2 separate regions of the Homo sapiens genome follow, and region 2 is linked to region 1. The links are contacts of gene promoters, found by promoter capture Hi-C in human tissues and cell types (Jung and others, 2019). All regions are on one chromosome and are shown on one strand. The core of a region is centred on a gene start or on the middle of the fragment in contact, and the rest is flanking DNA. Distances in the headings are between cores, read along the strand shown.

Evidence for each region. The method cuts DNA at HindIII sites, captures the fragments that hold promoters and counts their contacts. A contact is called where the count stands out against the background at its distance.
Region 2: a contact is called between a fragment that was not itself captured here and the fragment with the promoter of ZNF726 in region 1, in 1 of the 25 tissues and cell types used here (pancreas).

What each region holds. Positions count from the first base shown.
Region 1 is chr19:23,913,331-23,916,552 of GRCh38, forward strand. ZNF726 (zinc finger protein 726) reads left to right here and starts at 1,556. Exons shown (of 4, transcript NM_001244038.2): 1 at 1,556-1,667. The coding sequence starts at 1,665. The HindIII fragment of the contact is 4,279 bases long and covers 1,097-3,222 here.
Region 2 is chr19:23,955,586-23,958,848 of GRCh38, forward strand. ZNF276-AS1 (ZNF276 antisense RNA 1) reads right to left here and starts at 2,368. Exons shown (of 3, transcript NR_149007.1): 1 at 2,146-2,368. The HindIII fragment of the contact is 3,248 bases long and covers 1-2,992 here.

The sequences.
Region 1 (3,222 bases), core at 306-2,805:
ATGAGCCAGTGACCTTTGACTCCTGTTCAGAAGAAATGAAAGGGATGGGTAACATAAAGATATAGATTGGCTTTCTACTTTTGGGAATTAGTTGAAATCATGCAGAGAGTAACTTATTTACTGAGTGGGCACAGACTTCATCCTGTCTACATAATCGAACAAACTGTTGTGTATGTAGACATTTAAACAGAGACTCAAAAGGAAACCTATGCTTTGATCAAAACCAAATGTTTTGTGTGTGCTCCAGACTATTTACATAACATAACCCAGGGCATAAAAGTTTTATGCACTCACATCTCTGCCATTTATGTGCTATCAGTGAACCATATATCAGTTTGGTTCTAACAACTGCCCACTTCTTGAAAGGCTTTCCTGTTTAGTTTACGTGGAATAATTTTACTAATTTTGCTTTGCTGTTGTGGAATATATTGTGGTTGTACTCTTTGTGTAGGAATGCAAGACAAGCTCACTAAATGCTTTCTTAAATTGGACGCTTATTAATCTTCTAGACATCACCTTCTTTTGGAACTAGAAGTTATGAACGACCTTCACCATACCAACACTGTCTGACTGAATTTCTCTCTACCCTGAATGCAAGAGACCAATGGTTAGGCAGGAATATTATCGCCCCTAATCAGCCTGAAAAAGTTACAGAAGACGAATCTTTGTCTCTCTGCAACTCTTAGGATTAAGGGTCCTCTTGTAAAGGAAGGCGAAAAATATGTCAGAATCATTTGAACCAGAGCGACTCCGTTTTGAGAGAGAGCTAGGAAAATGACGCTGAGACTCGCTGGGCTGCATTCTCAGTAAGTTAGGCATTCCTAGCCTCTAGATATTTATGGTTAAGGAAATGAATTAATAATGTTTACTAAGCAGAACCAGACGGAGGAGTGTCCAGATATTCCAACATCTGGGGAATAAAGGTATTCCTAATTTTGCTTTAAAGATAATATCGAGTCGGCCAGGCATGGTGGCTCACGACTGTAATCCTAGCATTTTGGGAGGTCGAGGCGGGTGGATCTCCTGAGGTCAGAAGTTCGAAACCAGCCTGGCTAACGTGGCGAAACCCCATCTCTACTAAAAAAAACCAAAAAACAAAAATTAGCCCGGTGTGGCTGTGTGCACCTGTAGTCCCAGCTACTATGGAGGCTGAGGCAGGAGAATCGCTTGATCCCGGAAGGCGAAGGTTGCAGTGAGCCGAGATCGCGCCATTGCACTCCAGCCTGGACAACAAGAGCGAAACTTTGTCTAAAAAAAAAATTATTCACATATTTAATACGTTGAAAAAAAGACAGCAAAGAAGAGAGAAAATTTTTCCGTGTTCTGAGATGGGCCTCGTTCAGCTCCGGGAGGAAGCCCCGCCTGAAAAGGCTGAGGCTTAGGCTGTCAATCTTTCTTCATTCAGCCCAACGTCTGATGACATCTTCTGTCACTCAGGGCCTTAGAAAGCGGGGTTCTTAAACGTTATCCAATCAGAGACGCTGTCCTGGGAACTGTCCAATCAGGCACGCAGCTGGAGCGAACAGGGCGGCTTCCGGGATTTGGCGGGGCCTTTGTCTCTATCTGCGGCCGGAGCTCCAGGTCTCGTCCTCACTACTCTGTGTCTTCTGCTTTTAGGGGCGCAGCCTCTGTGGCCCTGTGACCTGCCCCCTGGAAGCCTAGAAATGGTGAGAGTGCCGGGTGCGACATCCCAAGAGAGGGAACGGGGCTGGCTGGAACCGGTGGGAAGCGGCAGTGGCGGGACTCAGGCCTCCTCGCTGTCAGTTTTACAATCTGCGCCCGAGTTGTTGCCCAGCTCGGCCTCAGTCCCTTCAGCCTTAAGATGGCGGCTGCGCTGACAGCCGGGCTCCCGGGCGTTCTGTCTCTTCACTGCGCAGTGACTGTGCCCTGGCCTGGAGCCCTCTTTGGGCAGCTCTGCACCAGTAGCCCCGCGTCTCTCCCAGATTGTGCAGGGACCATGGGAGGAACGTCAGGGCAGAATCCTGACTCCGGGTGCGGGCTCATGAATGGGAAGAGCTTTGGTCCGTGGGGTTTTCAGGCCATTTTTTCCTATTAAAAATTTATGGGCCTCACTGCAAAAACATTAAATAATTTAAAGTGTGATTCAAAAATTTTAGAGCACCTTGCTGTGGTTTCTAATTTGTATTCCATGGAAGGAAAGGTTTTTATAAGTTTCATCATAAAACCAAATTCCGTAATTGGCTAGGTACGGTTATGTAGATTTTGTTGTTATTTTGTTGTTGTTGTTTTGTTTTCATTTTCTTTTTTTTTTGAGGCAGAGTCTCTGTTGCCCAGGCTGAAGTGCAGTTTCGTGATCTCGGCTCACTGCAACCTCCACCTCCCGGGTTCAAGCGATTTTTCTGCCTCAGCCTCCCTAGTAGTTGGGACTACAGGCGCCTGCCACCACATTTGGCAATTTTTTTTATTTTTAGCGGAGACGGGGGTTTCACCGTGTTGGTCAGGCAGGTCTCGATCTCCTGACCTCAGGTGATCCACCCACCTCGGCCTTCCAAAGTTCTGGGATTACAGGCGTGAGCCACTGCCCCCGTCCTAGTTCTTAATTTTTACAATCAAGGTGGAAATATCATGGTTATGTAATCAGAGCTTAATTGGCAGTTTATAGTTGGTTAAGCGTTAAGCCTGAATTTTGTTTCTGCCAATGTAGTAATTTACAAAAAAATGCTCTTGAGTTTAGACTTTTTTTTTAGAAGTAGAAATCCAGGGACTAGAGCCACCTCAATCTAATTTCCTGCCACTTAATGGTTTTCACACTCCACAGGGGACTGATTTTTTCCCTGAATTTTTCACAAGTGTCCCAAGCAGGGCCTCAAGTCTGCCCCTCATCCCTTATTCCTCCAGCCTGACTGGCTTGCAGTAAAATACTAAATTTCCAGTTTTGTCTGACGTTGCCAAATGCCAGTTTCTCCTCTCTAATTGACTTTATCAACTATTTGTCCTTTAGTGTACATATTGATACCTATTTTAATGAATCTTTTTTTTTTTTTAAAAGTATTTGAGACAGAGCCTTGCTCTGTTGCAGTGCAGTGGCTGGAGTGCAGTGGCATGACTTAGGCTCACTGCAGCCTCCGCCTCCTGGGCTCAAACGGTTCTCATTTCTGTCTCCCAAGTAGCTGGAATTACAGATGCCTGGCACCACGCCTGGCTAATTTTTGTAGTTTTAGTAGAGACGGGGTTTCACTATGTTGGCCAGGCTGGTCTTGA
Region 2 (3,263 bases), core at 119-2,618, 42 kb after region 1:
CTGGAGTACTCCAAAAAACCTTCATGCCTGAGTGGCCGAATCCTGAGGCCCCACAGGTCTGTTGAACATTACTTGAAGGTAAGGAGTAAGAATAATCTGAGCAAGGCAAGTCCCTTTAGAGATGGCATGGACCCCTGACACCTGTGCCATAACTTTAATTTCTGCTAAATAGTCTGAATCTATGACTCCAGAGAAAATTTGAATTCCTTGAAGTGTACTTCTGATAATCAATCCAAACGTTCCTCTGGGTAATGGGCCATAGATTCCAGTAGAAATCAGCTGGACCCCATCTTGCTCTTTAAGCACCATATCTGATATGACTGTGAGGTCCAGCCCTGCGCTGCCAGAGGTGGCTGAAGAGAGGTTATGGATGCTATTTCTGGTCCTGACTCAGAGGGGAAAGTCATTCCCCAAGTCTGGGAATTGGTGTTCCTCCATGGATTTTTCTGGGCATTGGAGGTCTTGCCCCTCTTCCCGTTTCCCAATAATGGGTTTCATCCTTATCAAATTTTGAATTTCACTGATTAGCCCAGTGCTTACCTTTGCTGAATCGCAGGCATTCTTGAGAGGGTATTTTAGGGGCCTTTGATTTCTTTGGGACTCCCTTCTGTTGGCATTCTTTGGCCATATGCCCAGTTTGGCCACAATTATAACATGTGGCCCCAGTCATCACTGCAGCAAAAGTCTGAGCCAGATAAGTTGTAAGTGCCTACATTCTGGCACGTTTTAATAAACACACCGATTTCAGTGGCAGTGGCTCAGACTAGGGTTATTGCTGCCTGACAATCCTTATTGCATTTTCAAAAGCCAATTGCAACATAAGAAGTTTAGCGACTTCAGGATGAGGTACCTGTCTTTCAATTGCAGCCTGCAATCGGTTGATAAATTCAACATATGTTTCTGTGGCACCCTGTTTAACCATCACAAAGGAACTCTGGAATTGTCCCATGAGTATCCTCTTCCATGCCTGTATCGCTAGCTGTGAGCATTGAGGAAATAGACGGCCATCCACCTGAGCCTAAGCCTGAGCTGAAGCAAAAGGCCCTGTCTCCAACAGCATACATATCAAGCTGTATCAGGATATTATCCAAATTTTGCAAGGATTGCTGCATGGCTAGATCACTGTACTCTCTCCACCACACAGTATATTCAGCAGCTGAAGCCAAAACTTTTCCCAGAGTTTTCCAGTCATGCACAGCCATCTCATAACCATTTCCCAGAGCCTCAACCATCCCCTGCGTAAAGGGTGAATGTACACCATTTTTGCAGATACTTCTTTTTAATTCCTTAAAGACAATAAAAGGCAAGCGCTCATGCCGTCTCCTATTATTTTGAACAATGACAGGGAATGCACTAAAAAGCGCCTCAGGATCTTCCTTCCTCAGTCCCTCCTGGAGGCATCCTTCTAGTAGGGAGGTTTTTTGAGGGGACACGGCCATCCAGTCATATAAATGTTCACTGCCTGGAGGTCTTATCCAAGAACAGTCCCTTGGACGGCCTCCAATCTACTCAAGGGGGATGGGAGGTGCTATTGCCTGAATGGGGCCAACAGATGCAGGTCGTGTGAAGGGTGGAGGAAAAGAGGGCAATGGCTTTTCTATTGAGAGAGGAAAAGGCTCCAGTCCGTCCTCATCATCACTAGAAAAAGTGTCTTCTTTATGCCCTACTGAAGGGAGTGAAGTTGGGGGAGGAACTCCTTCCTGTTGTTCTGCTTTCTGTGTCCCCTTTTCCTTTAAATTTTCCGAATTCCCTTCAGGTGAAGAAAATGGGCAATCTGACTCACCACGATCTGGCATATAAAGAGGGTACAACACAGAACATGCCAGACTCCAGGTGATCAAAACGGTAACATTAGTAAAATGGACCTGCTCAAATCCTCTTTTCAGGCAGCAATCTGCCTGCTCCCATAACTCTAAGTCTAATGTTCCTTGGTCAGGGAACCAAGGGCATTCCTGCCGAATTAAAAACATAAGCTTATGCAAAGCTTCAGACTCTATGGTGCACTGAATAACCTTAAGTAAATGTTGCACCGTTTTAAAAAATACTTTCTGCTCTTTGGACAACTCCTGATCCATGGTAACCCGACCCCTGGTATTATAGACGTCGGTGCTGTCCTCCTGAAAATGGGTAGGGACTGTCCCTTACCGGTATTCCCCGAAGATTGGTGAGTCATCCTACTCCATGCATAACTTCAAGGCAATCACGTCGGAGTCACCACTTGATCATGTCCGAGTCACCACTTGATCACGTCCGAGTCACCACTTGCAGCTTGTTCTGCAGTGAATGCCGAGAAATAAATATTCAGACAATTACAGCTGAACGGGGAAGGGAGCAGCTCCTCCAATGGAGTGTTGCTTTAAGATTCATCCGCCAAGTATTTATTGAGAAGGCTTGTTGAACTACAATTTAGACAAACAAGAAACATCCACCAGGTGGCTATTTGGATTCGGGTCATGAGGCACATATGGCCTTGTTTATAACATCTAAAAGCACTCAAACCACATTCTTAGGAGGCTGTGTTCAGCACTCTTTATCACACATTCTGTTCCTTGTCCTGTTTTCAGGGTCAAGGAATTACAGTCTCATGCACAAACAACATACACACAGTGCCTCAGTATTTTTCCATGCCTCAACCTCAAATGCCTTGTACATAAGCTTGAATGTATTGTCTTACAACCCCCACGCTATGCCAGTAGGAAAAGGGGTTGCCTGGGGACTATGCCTGTTCAAAATGGTGGCTCCATCTTCCCTTTTCTTTGTAAACCACATGTACAGTAACAACCAAGAAAGGGTGAAATTAAAGTAAAACTTTTGATTGTTGACTTGTCAAACTGGATTTGTATGGATTAATAGGTCTAGCACAGGTAGAAGAGAGACAAATACTTCTGGTTTATCTGATTTAATGCAAATACAGGCAAACCTGGCTAAGAAATGCTTTTCACCAAAGTTTGTCTGCAATTTGAACGCTGTAGGTTAAACTTATTTAAAAGTACTCTGGACAGATTCACTTGTAATATAAGCATGTTGTAGTTTCTGGTGTTTAGGACTGATTTCTGTTTATTTAGTTTTCTGAAGAGACACAAGAGACAGCCCTAGCTACTATCAGACTTCCTAGAGACAAATTGGGCAAATGAGCCCTACAAAATTCCATTTACTTTAAATATAATAAATAATAATCTCTAAACATAAGAATTTGACCAGCGTTAACCACTTTACTTTCCCAATGCACTGATACTTCTCCTTTTTTCTTAGCATAACACAAA